Regions from separate parts of the Homo sapiens genome. Here regions 2, 3 and 4 are each linked to region 1. Evidence: promoter capture Hi-C in human tissues and cell types (Jung and others, 2019). All regions are on one chromosome and are shown on one strand. The core of a region is centred on a gene start or on the middle of the fragment in contact, and the rest is flanking DNA. Distances in the headings are between cores, read along the strand shown. Region 1 holds the start of ZNF556 (zinc finger protein 556). Region 2 overlaps SGTA (small glutamine rich tetratricopeptide repeat co-chaperone alpha). Region 3 overlaps ZNF77 (zinc finger protein 77). Region 4 overlaps THOP1 (thimet oligopeptidase 1).

What was found. Contacts are between HindIII fragments. The study calls those that stand out against the background at their distance.
Region 2: a fragment that was not itself captured here is called in contact with the fragment with the promoter of ZNF556 in region 1 in 11 of the 25 tissues and cell types used here (adrenal gland, bladder, dorsolateral prefrontal cortex and 8 more).
Region 3: a fragment that was not itself captured here is called in contact with the fragment with the promoter of ZNF556 in region 1 in 2 of the 25 tissues and cell types used here (adrenal gland and pancreas).
Region 4: a contact is called between a fragment that was not itself captured here and the fragment with the promoter of ZNF556 in region 1, in 2 of the 25 tissues and cell types used here (dorsolateral prefrontal cortex and mesenchymal stem cells).

What each region holds. Positions count from the first base shown.
Region 1 is chr19:2,865,986-2,868,666 of GRCh38, forward strand. ZNF556 (zinc finger protein 556) reads left to right here and starts at 1,350. Exons shown (of 4, transcript NM_024967.3): 1 at 1,350-1,439. The coding sequence starts at 1,437. The HindIII fragment of the contact is 10,595 bases long and covers 1-2,681 here.
Region 2 is chr19:2,756,057-2,758,737 of GRCh38, forward strand. SGTA (small glutamine rich tetratricopeptide repeat co-chaperone alpha) reads right to left here. Exons shown (of 12, transcript NM_003021.4): 10 at 1,637-1,726; 11 at 1,281-1,401. The coding sequence ends at 1,287. Among named protein-coding and RNA genes, the nearest start is that of SLC39A3, 17 kb to the left of the region's middle. The HindIII fragment of the contact is 7,304 bases long and covers 1-2,681 here.
Region 3 is chr19:2,938,697-2,941,377 of GRCh38, forward strand. It overlaps ZNF77 (zinc finger protein 77), which reads right to left. Exons shown (of 4, transcript NM_021217.3): 2 at 585-711. Among named protein-coding and RNA genes, the nearest start is that of ZNF77, 4.9 kb to the right of the region's middle. The HindIII fragment of the contact is 4,202 bases long and covers 1-2,681 here.
Region 4 is chr19:2,793,677-2,796,357 of GRCh38, forward strand. It overlaps THOP1 (thimet oligopeptidase 1), which reads left to right. Exons shown (of 13, transcript NM_003249.5): 3 at 1,088-1,236; 4 at 2,405-2,512. Among named protein-coding and RNA genes, the nearest start is that of THOP1, 9.5 kb to the left of the region's middle. RefSeq lists an enhancer at 2,348-2,681. The HindIII fragment of the contact is 3,628 bases long and covers 1-2,681 here.

The DNA of each region.
Region 1 (2,681 bases), core at 100-2,599:
TGATCACAGTATACGGAATAGCCTCTGCAAAGGTGGGCGGGGACCCTATAAAATCTATTTGCTCTCAGCCCTACCAACAGGCTTCCAGGGATTATGCCTCCTTGATTATATGTCATTTGCCTGTAGACTATTCATCTGCCTGCACATTGAGCGCTCAGCTGTGGTGTTTGAGTTTTCATAGGTACACAGATATTCGTGACCTTGATTTTTACTTGAGAAACTGTGAGGCAAAATATCCCCAGAGTGCTTTAACCTCAAAATATTGACCTAGGATACAGTTGTTGCCACAGTTTTTTTTAAGTGTGTTTTCGGTTTTTTTGTTTTGTTTTGTTTTCTATGTTTTTGTTGTTGTTGTTGTTTTTGAGACGGAGTTTCCCTCTTGTTGCCTAGGCTGAGTGCAGTGGGGCAATCTCAGCTCACTGCAACCTCCGCCTTCCAGGTTCAAGCGATTCTTCCCCCTTAGCCTCCGAGTAGCTGGGATTACAGGCACCCACCACCACACCCGGCTAATTTTTTGTATTTTTAGTAAAGACAGGGTTTCATCATGTTGGCCACACTGGTCTCAAACTCCTGACCTCAGGTGATCCACCCACCTTGGCCTCCCAAAGTGCTGTGATTACAGGCATGAGCCACCGCGCCCGGCTGGCTAGACCATTGCTAATGGCTCAAGAGTTCAGTTCTAGCAATTGTGCTGACCCTAGTTAGGGAATGGTAAAGCTTTCGTTGGTCACTCACTTGACCCCATGGGCCTCCCCAGGTGTCTACTGGTCAGGAGAGAGAGGGGACCTCCTCCAGTGTCATGGAATCTGACAACAGACTGAGGACAGAAGAAGCTGCTTTTTTCTACGGTGGATACCCCAAGGGCCCAGGTTTCCCTCTAAGTCAGTACCACTTTCATTTCAGGAAGGAGACCACCGTGGATGGGGGCTGCTGCCTGCAGGACCCGAGACCTGAAAACTGACCAATCAGGCAGCTGGGGTGGGGCCTAGAGAACTGACCAATCAGGGGAGTTGAGGTGGAGCATCCGGATGAGAACTGTCAATCAGGGGGGTTGGGGCAGAGCCTGGAGACCTGTCAAATCAAAGGAGCTGAGGCAGGGCGTGGAAACATGACCAATTAGGAAAGCTGGGGTGGGGCCTGAAGAACTGCCCAATCAGGGGAGCTCAGGGGATAGCAAGCTGACCAACCAGAAGAGGAGGGGCAGAGTCTAAAGAACTGTCCAATCAGGGGAGTTGGGATGTGACTGGTGAACTCTCCAATCAGAGATGAGCAGAGAAGAGAACCATCCAATCACAGCCCCAGGGGCGGGGCGTTGCTGTCCTCCCTGCAGAGCACACCCGGCCTGCCCTGAGTGACCACAGGTGTCCCCGTCGTGCTCACCTGCACCGGCTGCGAGGAGCAGGGAGCTCCTCAAAGAGCTCAGGAACGGACAGGACATGGTGAGTGCAGGGCAGGAGCCGAGCCGGAGCCGGAGCCCTGGGAGGGGAGGGTTGGAAGCGGCCAGAACACGCTGAAACTCCCGGGGGAGCCGCCCGGAACCCCCATGCAGCCTCTGTCCCTGTGTCACCCCCGGGTCCTGCGGGGAGTTTCCTCCCCTGCCCCAGTCTTCATTCCCTGGAAAGTCGTAGTTGTCAGGACGCTGGGATGGAGGGGAAAAAAAGGCAGAAATGACTCCTGCCCTGTGGGGTCTCGCGAAGTTAATTGGAAGAAAAACTAACCCAAAGTACAAAAAACAAAACAAAAAAAAAAAAAACCTCACCCCAGCGAGGCGGTGCAACAGCCCCAAAGCAGAATGCGCTTTGGATGCAGACTTTGGGCCCAGGCCCACGTCCCTGGGAGGGGCGAGGGGTGGACAGGTGGTGCGGGCGCTCCACGTGGCGGCACGGGCTGGCCTGACCCCAAAGGCCCGCAGGCCGGACTCCAGCCCAGCCGCCCCTGCCTGGGCCTCTCTCCTTCTAAAGATTGATTTGGTTACTTGAGCCTCAGATTTTTTCAGTCAATGGAACATACAGTAAATAATAGAGTTTGAAAGATAAAATATTTCCAAGGAGGTGAATTTCAGAAAAAAATAAAGTTCTCGTCTTACATTCCATTTGTTAAAAATTCTAGCGTGCCTTTTTTTTTTCTTTTTATTTTCTGTTCCTTTTTTGCCCGTGTGGTTAAGTTTCTCACATCTGTTGTTTTATTTTCGGTGATGACAAATGGGATTCCAGGGCTTAGCCCTTGACGGGGCTCCCGGGAAAAAGAATCGCAGAGAAAGAGAGAAAATCTCTCTTTTATTATGACACGCCCCGAAATGAATACATTCCTACAAGAAAAAAATGTTTGGTATATAATTTGGTGAATTACAAAAACTCGCTAAAATATCAGTTATTCTCCTTTTCCAGGATGGAGAATTTGTGATAGATGATAATTCTGTTCTTTTATTTTTTGTTTTTATTTTTTGAAACGGAGTCTTGCTCTGTCACCCAGGCTGGAGTGCAGTGGCGCGATCTCGGCTCACTGCAACCTCCGCCTCCTGAGTTCAAGCGATTGATTCTCCTGCCTCAGCCTCCCCAGCAGCTGGGACTACAGGTGTGTGCCACCACGTCCAGCTAATTTTTGTATTTTTAGTGGAGACAGGGTTTTACCATGTTGGCCAAGCTGGTCTCCAACTCCTGACCTCAGGTGATCCACCCGCC
Region 2 (2,681 bases), core at 120-2,619, 110 kb before region 1:
ACGTCAGAGCCACAGCTGCACCAGAAGCGTTCCACACACTCGGGGCCACGTGTGGCTGGTGGCGCAGAGAACATCGCCATGACCTAGAAGGGTCTACAGTATGGTGGTACTTTGTGTATGAGGTTACGGTGGTAAAAAATCCACCTCAACTATTAAAAAAAGAAAAGGAAAAATAAATAAAAGCTTATTTAAAAAAAAAAGGGAAGACTGGAAGAAAAGGCGGCCAAAATATTAATGTTGGTGGCTCTGGGTGAGAAGATTAAGGTTGGGCTGAATGCACGGCTCACACTTTGGGAGGCCGAGGCGGGAGGATCGCTTGAGCCCAGGAGGTTGAGGCTGCAGTGAGACGTGACTGCACCACTGCCCTCCAGCCGGGGGGACAGAGCAGGACGGTCTCAAAAAAAAAAAAAAAAGATTAAGATTGTTCTTGCTGCTTTTTAACATTTTTGTATTTTAAATTTGTCTACAGTAATTATGGTTTAAAAATGAAAGAGAGTGTATATGAGGAGGGGACAACGACAAAATGAAGAGGCCACATGGGAGCAGAATGGAAACACCTCTGGGGAGGCCCGGAGCCTCCCGCCCCCAGGGAGCCGGCGTCTGCTGGAGACAGACAGGACTGAACTCAGGGGAGCCTCCCACCCCTGGGAAGCCGGTGTCTGCTGGAGACGGACAGGACTGAACTCAGGGGCCCCTGGGGAAGGAAACCAAGCCAGCCACGGGCCCCTGGAACCCATGGGGGACACTGAGTGTATTTTTAAACAACTGTAAGTGCAACACCTGCTCACAGTGAGAAAAGGACAAAAAATCCCTCACAAAATGCAGGCAGAACGCTCGGGCGCAGTCAAAGGCAGGTACCCGGCTTGTCCTTTCCACCACTCGATGACCTCGCCCCCACCCCCGAGGTGGCAGCCCCGACACTGCAGAAACAAAGAGCTTCTGCAGGCGGCCTTAGGCAGGGGGGACCCCAGACACCAGCCCTTCCAGGGAGCTGTGGCTCTCCCCTAATCTCCACCCAGCGCCGATCCACAGATGGGAAAGGAGTGGGGAGCAGGACTTGGTGGCCACCTGGAAAGGGGCCCAATGCCCAGAGATGCCCCCACCTGCCTGGGCGGTTCAGGGTGATCTTCTGAGCTGGATGCACCCAGGACTCGCTGTCCAGTGTCCAGACAGGCTCCACAGCCCCCGGGCGTCACTCCTGCTGGCTGCCCTCACTGCCAGGCACTCACGTGGTGTCACTCCTGCTGGCCACCCCCCAGCCCCCGGCCCCATGCACTCACGCAGCGTCACTCCTGCTGGTCGTCGTTGCTGGCGCTGGGCGTCCGACTCCGGATCTGGCTCCTGAGCTGCTCTATCAACTCTGGGTTCTGCTGCTGCATCTGCTGGGCAAACTGCTGGCCCCTGCGGGGAAGGGCACATGGGGCTCAGCCAGGGCCAGGAGGCTGCCTGCTGCCTCCGTCCATCCCCAGCTGACCCCTCGGGCCCTCCACCCCAAAGACAGGCCTGACCCCTCGCTGGAGGACGCTGGGCCCTTCGGAGCAGGGGACGCAGCACTTTCGCTCTCCTCCTTCCCTTCCGCCTGCGAGCCCTGCCCGCCGCCCACGTCCTCCGTCCTCTTGGAAGCAGTTCCACTCACGCCTGGATGAGGCTGGCCAGGTCGTTCTGCGAGGGGCTGGTGCCGGGAGTTCCCAAGGGGTTGTTGCCACCCGAAATCATGCCGGACATGCTGCAGGAGAGAGCGCGTGACTCGCAGCCGGGACAGCCTGACCGCCACCCCCACTGCAGGCCCTCGCAGTGGCCCGGGAGAGAATCCCTCTCAGCCCTTCACCTTCCCCTGCAGGAGAGGATTCTCTCTCACCACCTGGTGGGCCTCCAGGGCCCAAACCCACCCTGTGACTTTCACCTGCTTTCCCAGAACACCCCTCTTTCTTTGGCCTAAAGAGCGTAGTTCTCAGCCAGGGGGTGATCCTGCCCCCAGAGGACCCCTGCAATGGCAGCGGACATTTGCAACAGCCATGATTGGGTTACGCCAAGACAGGGGCAGGGGGTGCTCCTGGCATGGAGTGGATGGAGGCTAGAGACAGTGCTCAGCACCCTGCAGTGCCCAGGACGGCCCTGCTCCAGAAACTGGTCCAGCTCAAATGGCCACGGTGCTGTGGCTGGGAAACCATGCTTTAAGATTTGACCGTGGGCCAGCCGCGGTGGCTCACACCTGTCATCCCTGCACTTTGGGAGGCTGAGGCGGGTGGATCACCTGAGGTCAGGAGTTCAAGACCAGCCTGGCCAACATGGTGAAACCCCATCTCTACTAAAAATGCAAAAATCAGCCGGGCATGGTGGTGGATGCCTGTAATTCCAGCTACTTGGGAAGACCCACTTGATCCCGGGAGGCAGAGGTTGCAGTGAGCCAAGATTCTGCCACTGCACTCCAGCCTGGGTGACAGAGCAAGATTCTGTCTCAAAAAAAAAAAAAGGAGAAAGAAAAAAAGATTTCACCATGAAAACAGGTGAGCAGCTCCCCAGTGCGCACAGCGCTTACTGGGGAGTGACCCTATGAGCCAGCGAGTGCACTCAGAAGTTTATATCCAAGAGAAACGAAAACAGGATTCACACAGACGATTGCACACCCGTGCTCAAGCAGCACCGTTCACAACAGACAAAAGGTAGAAACAGCCCAAATG
Region 3 (2,681 bases), core at 125-2,624, 73 kb after region 1:
CTGTAATCCCAGCACTTTGGGAGGCCAAGGCGGGCGGATCACGAGGTCAGGAGATCGAGACCATCCTGGCTAACACGGTGAAACCCCATCTCTACTAAAGCTACAAAAAATTAGCCAGGCGTGGTGGTGGGCACCTGTAGTCCCAGCTATTCAGGAGGCTGAGGCAGGAGAATGGCATGAACCCGGGAGGCGGAGCTTGCAGTGAGCCGAGATCGTGCCACTGCACTCCAGCTTGGGCGAGAGAGCAAGACTCCGTCTCAAAAAAATAAAAAAAAAAAAAAAGAAAACCAAGGTCTCTTTGCTCTCCAGGACGCAGTGAGGGAATGATGCCACCCTTACCCAAGGAGGCAGTGAGGGAATGACGCCATCCTTACCCAAGGAGGCAGTGAGGGAATGACGCCACCCTTACCCAAGGAGGCAGTGAGGGAATGACGCCACCCTTACCCAAGGAGGCAGTGAGGGAATGACGCCACCCTTACCCAAGGAGGCAGTGAGGGAATGACGCCACCCTTACCCAAGGAGGCAGTGAGGGAATGACGCCACCCTTACCCAAGGAGGCAGTGAGGGAATGACACCACCCTTACCCAAGGAGGCAAGGTTCCTGCAGGTCTCCAGCATCACATCTCTGTAGAGGCTCCTCTGAGCATGATCCAGCAATGCCCACTCTTCTGGGGTGAAGTTCACAGCCACTTCCTCAAAGATCACGCAGTCCTAAAACATTCCACACATCCCACTTCAGCAAAGGCACCGCCTCCCCCATGTGCGCAGGAAGAGGGGTGAGGCTGACAGCCTGGGGAACTGAGCCACACAGAGCTTATGTCCTTGTGAGAGGTGACCAACAGTATGAAAAAGTGCAGTACACTCAATGCCGTGAGTACCTTCCCAACAGGGAGCAAAGCGCAATGACGGCCTCTGCCAGAGACTTACAAAGAATTACTGAGAAACGGCAGGTATGAGGGTGGGGAAACACTGAAAAATCTGAAAACATCATTAAGCTAAGGCTGGTGGCTCATGCCTGCAATCCCAGTACTTTGAGAGGCTCAGGTGCGAGGATTGCTTAGGGCCAGGAGTTGGCGACCAGCCTGGGCTGCATAGTGAGATCCCGTCTCTACAAAAAAAATAAAATACAATAAATTAACCAGCCATGGTGGTACACACCTGTAGTCCCGGCTACTTAGGAGGGTGAGGAGGGACAATCGCTTGAGCTCGGGGGTTCAAGGCTGCAGTGAACTATGACTGTGCCACTGCACTCCTGTCTGGGCCACAGAGTGAGACCCAATCTCAAAAAAATAAAATAAATCAATCATTCAGGTAACATGGAAATTGACATGACTTGCTCAAATTTTATTATTTCTTATTCAGCTATAATATCAGCACTTTGGGAGGCCAAGGTGAGAAGATCGCTTGAGGCCAGGAGTTCAAGACGAGCCTGGGTGACAGAGCAAAGACCCTGTCTCTTAAAAAAAAAAATTAAATTAAATTAAATTTTAAAAATACAACTATGAAGAAAAGCAAGGAGATTATTTCCTTATAATTTAGGATATTGGCCAGGTGTGGTGGTTCACGCCTGTAGTTCCAACACTTTGGGAGGCCAAGACAGGCAGATCACTTGAGTTCAGGAGTTCGAGATCACCCTGGACAACACAGTGAAACCCTGTCTCTACCAAAAAAAAAAAGGCTAAAAGAATTTAGGATAGGCCGGGCGTGGTGGCTCACGCCTATAATCCTAGCATTTTGGGAGGCTAAGGTGGGCGGATCACAAGGTTAAGAGATCAAGACCATCCTGGCCAACATGGTGAAACCCCATCTCTACTAAAAATACAAAAATTAGCTGGGCGTGGTGGCACACGCCTGTAGTCTCAGCTACTCAGGAGGCTGAGGCAGGAGAATCACTTGAACCCAGGAGGCAGAGGTTGCAGTGAGCCGAGATGGCGCCATTGCACTCCAGTCTAGCAACAGAGTGAGTCTCCATCACAAAAAAGAAAAAAAAAAAAAAAAAAAGAATGTAGAATACTGGCCTGATCTGGAGGGAGAAGCCTACCATTACACATCATTTCAAATTGGATGCCAAGGCTTCTTCGAAGACATGGCCTGGCTGTCGTTACACACTGTTCACTTGAGGACGTTTCCACTGACTCTGTAATTGTCTTACAAAAGTTCTACATGTGTTCAATTTTATAATAAAATGCTATCAGCAGCTGGGCTTGGTGGCTCAGGCCTATACTCCCAGCACTTTGGGAGACTGAGGTGGGAGGACTGTTTGAGCCCAGAAGCTTGGGACCAGCCTGAGCAATATGGTGAAACCCTGTCTCTACAAAAAATACAAAAATTAGCCAGGCATGGTGGGGCACACCTGGAGTCCCAGCTACTCAGGAGGCTGAGGTGGGAGGATCATTTGAGCCCAGGAGGTTGAGGCTGTAGTGAGCCACGATGTCACCACTGCACTCCAGCGTGGGTGACAGAGAGACGCCCTACCTCAAAAAAAAAAAAAAAAAAAAAGGCTGGGTGAGGTGGCTCACACCTGTAATCTCAGCACTTTGGGAGGCCAAGGCGGGAGGATCACTTGAGGTCAGGAGTTCATGAGCAGCCTGGCCAACATGGTGAAACCGCACCGCTACTAAAAATACAAAAATTAGCCAGGTGTGGTGGTGCATGCCTGTAATCCCAGCTACTTGGGAGGC
Region 4 (2,681 bases), core at 90-2,589, 72 kb before region 1:
GACACTTCGTCTCAAAAAAAAACAAATGGCATCACACACTGTGTGACTTTTGTGTCTGGCTTCTTTCTCTGCATGTGACATCATCGGGCTGCATCCACACCGCAGCCTGTTCCAGAGCCTCATTCCTTTTCATGGCTGAGTCGTGTTCCACTGGGCAGAGGCCACATCTTGTCAGTCCATTCACTCGTGGATGGACCTTTTGTCAATTGTGAATCGCGCTGCTGTGAGTGCACGTGTGCAGATTCCTGTGTGGATGTGTGTTCATGTCTCCTGGCTGGATCCTGGCACTGGAGTCTTGGGGGTCATGGGATGACTCCATTTTAAAGCTTTTTTTTTTTTCTTTTTTTTTCTTTTTTGAGATGGAGCCTCACTCTGTCGCCCAGGCTGGAGTGCAGTGGTACCATTTCAACTCGCTGCAACCTCCACCTCCCGGGTTCAAGCTATTCCCCTACCTCAGCCTCCCAAGTAGTTGGAATTACAGGCACGCGCCACCACGCCTGGCTAATTTTTGTATTTTTAGTAGAGATGGGGTTTCACCTTGTTGGCCAGGCTGGTCTCGGACTCCTGACCTCAAGTGATCTGCCTGCCTCGGCCTCCCAAAGGGCTGGGATTACAGGCTTGGCCACCACACCTGGCCTAAAGCTTATGCTTTTCTAGCCACTGACACTTCCTCTACTCAACCTAAAGCACAGATGTGCTCAGGAAATTGTAAGTAGTTTATGCATTTAAATGTGACCATCGGCAGCTGCAGCTCTCTCTGGAATGGAATTCCGTCAGCCTCTGTTTCGTCGTACCCAGCTCTGTTGGGTCCTCCTTGGCTTGGAGGGCTTTGAGTTGAATCCTTATTTTTCTTCGGTCTGTAAGATCTCCAAGGACACAGGCAACAGCACCTCCTTTCTCCATCCCAGGGCCCAGCCTGGAGGGGACGGTGGCGTGTGCCTCTAGTCCCAGCTACTTGGGAGGCTGAGGCAGGAGAGAGTTCACGGGGGGATTCAGCAGACAGGCCTGGGAGAGGGGTCCGGGCAACACCTGCCAGTTGTACTGGGGCCTGTTCTCACACCTGTCTCCCTGGTCTCCCCTGTTTTAGTTCAGAGGAATATCCTTGACTTCCCCCAGCATGTTTCCCCCTCCAAGGACATCCGGACAGCCAGCACAGAGGCCGACAAGAAGCTCTCTGAGTTCGACGTGGAGATGAGCATGAGGGAGGACGTGTACCAGAGGATCGTGTGGCTCCAGGTGAGGGGGCCCTGCGGGGAGTGCAAATAGCCTCCCAAGTAACTAGGATTACAGGCGCCCGCCACCACACCCGGCTAATTTTTGTATTTTTAGTAGAGACGGGGTTTCAACGTGTTGGTCAGGCTAGTCTCGAACTCCTGACCTCAAGTGATCCGCCCACCTCGGCCTCCCACAGTGCTGGGATGACAGGTGTGAGCCACTGTGCCCGGCCCATTTTTTGTATTTTTAGTAGGCACAGGGTTTTGCCATGTTGGTCAGGCTGTTCTCAAACTCCTGACCTCAGGTGATCCGCCCGCCTTGGCCTCCCAAAGTGCTGGGATCACAGGCCTGAGCCACCACGCCCGGCCACACATGTGCACTTTCATTTCCTTTCCTGGCCATCCTAGTGTGACCCAAACACCCCATCCCCACATGGCGTGAGCTGGCAGGGCCTGGCGGCATGGCTGCGTGGGCTCCTGCTCCCCCGGATGCTCCTCGCAGTATGCAGTGGGGCCTTTGCTGTTGATGTCACATGATCAGGAGAGACCCAGAGACCCTCCTGCTGCTGTTCATCCTCTTAGGCGAGGACCCCTGGGAATGTGCTGATGTGTCCCACAGTCTCAGGATCATGCAGCCCTAGTGCTTTGGTAAATCCAGATCAGGGTGACCCATGATAGCCGTGGATTGTTATTTCTTTTTATTTAAATACAGACAGGGTCTCACAACGTTGCCCACGCTTGTCTCGAACTCCTGGGCCCACGCAATCCTCCCACCTCCACTTTCCAGAGTTTCTGTTGAGACAATGAGAGGTTCCCATGCAGGTGCAGGAAAGAATCGAATGCCTTTGCCAACTTTGCCCAGGTCCCCAGTGATGACGTTTTGCAAAACTATGGTGTCATCTACACCCCGATACCGACCTGGAGACCACCAGCAATCTAATTCCCATTCAGCCATCGCACTGGTGAAGGAGCTCTGGACTGATGTCAGTGTGGGGCTCTTCCAAACAAAGCGAACGTTTGCACAGGTTTTATGTAGAGACAGGTCGTCATTTCTCTGAGATAAATGCCCAGGAGTGCAGTTGCCAAGTCACACGGGGGCCGGATGATCAGGTTTTTAAGAAACTGCCAAACTGCTCTTTGGAGCGGCTGCACTGGCCCACGTCCTACATGCTTTGATGTTTTTATTCCAGGAGAAAGTTCAGAAGGACTCACTGAGGCCCGAGGCTGCGCGGTACCTGGAGCGGCTAATCAAGCTGGGCCGGAGAAATGGGCTTCACCTCCCCAGAGAGACTCAGGAAGTGAGTGCTGGGTGTAGGGAGTGCTGGGCGTGGGCAATGGTCGATCCCGGGGAGTGCTGGGCACAGGGAGTGCTCAGTCCCAGGGAGTGGTGGGAGCAAGAAGCGCAGGGCAGGGGGAGTGCTGGGCTCGGGGAGTGCTCGGCTCAGGGAGTGCTTGGGGCATCAGGAG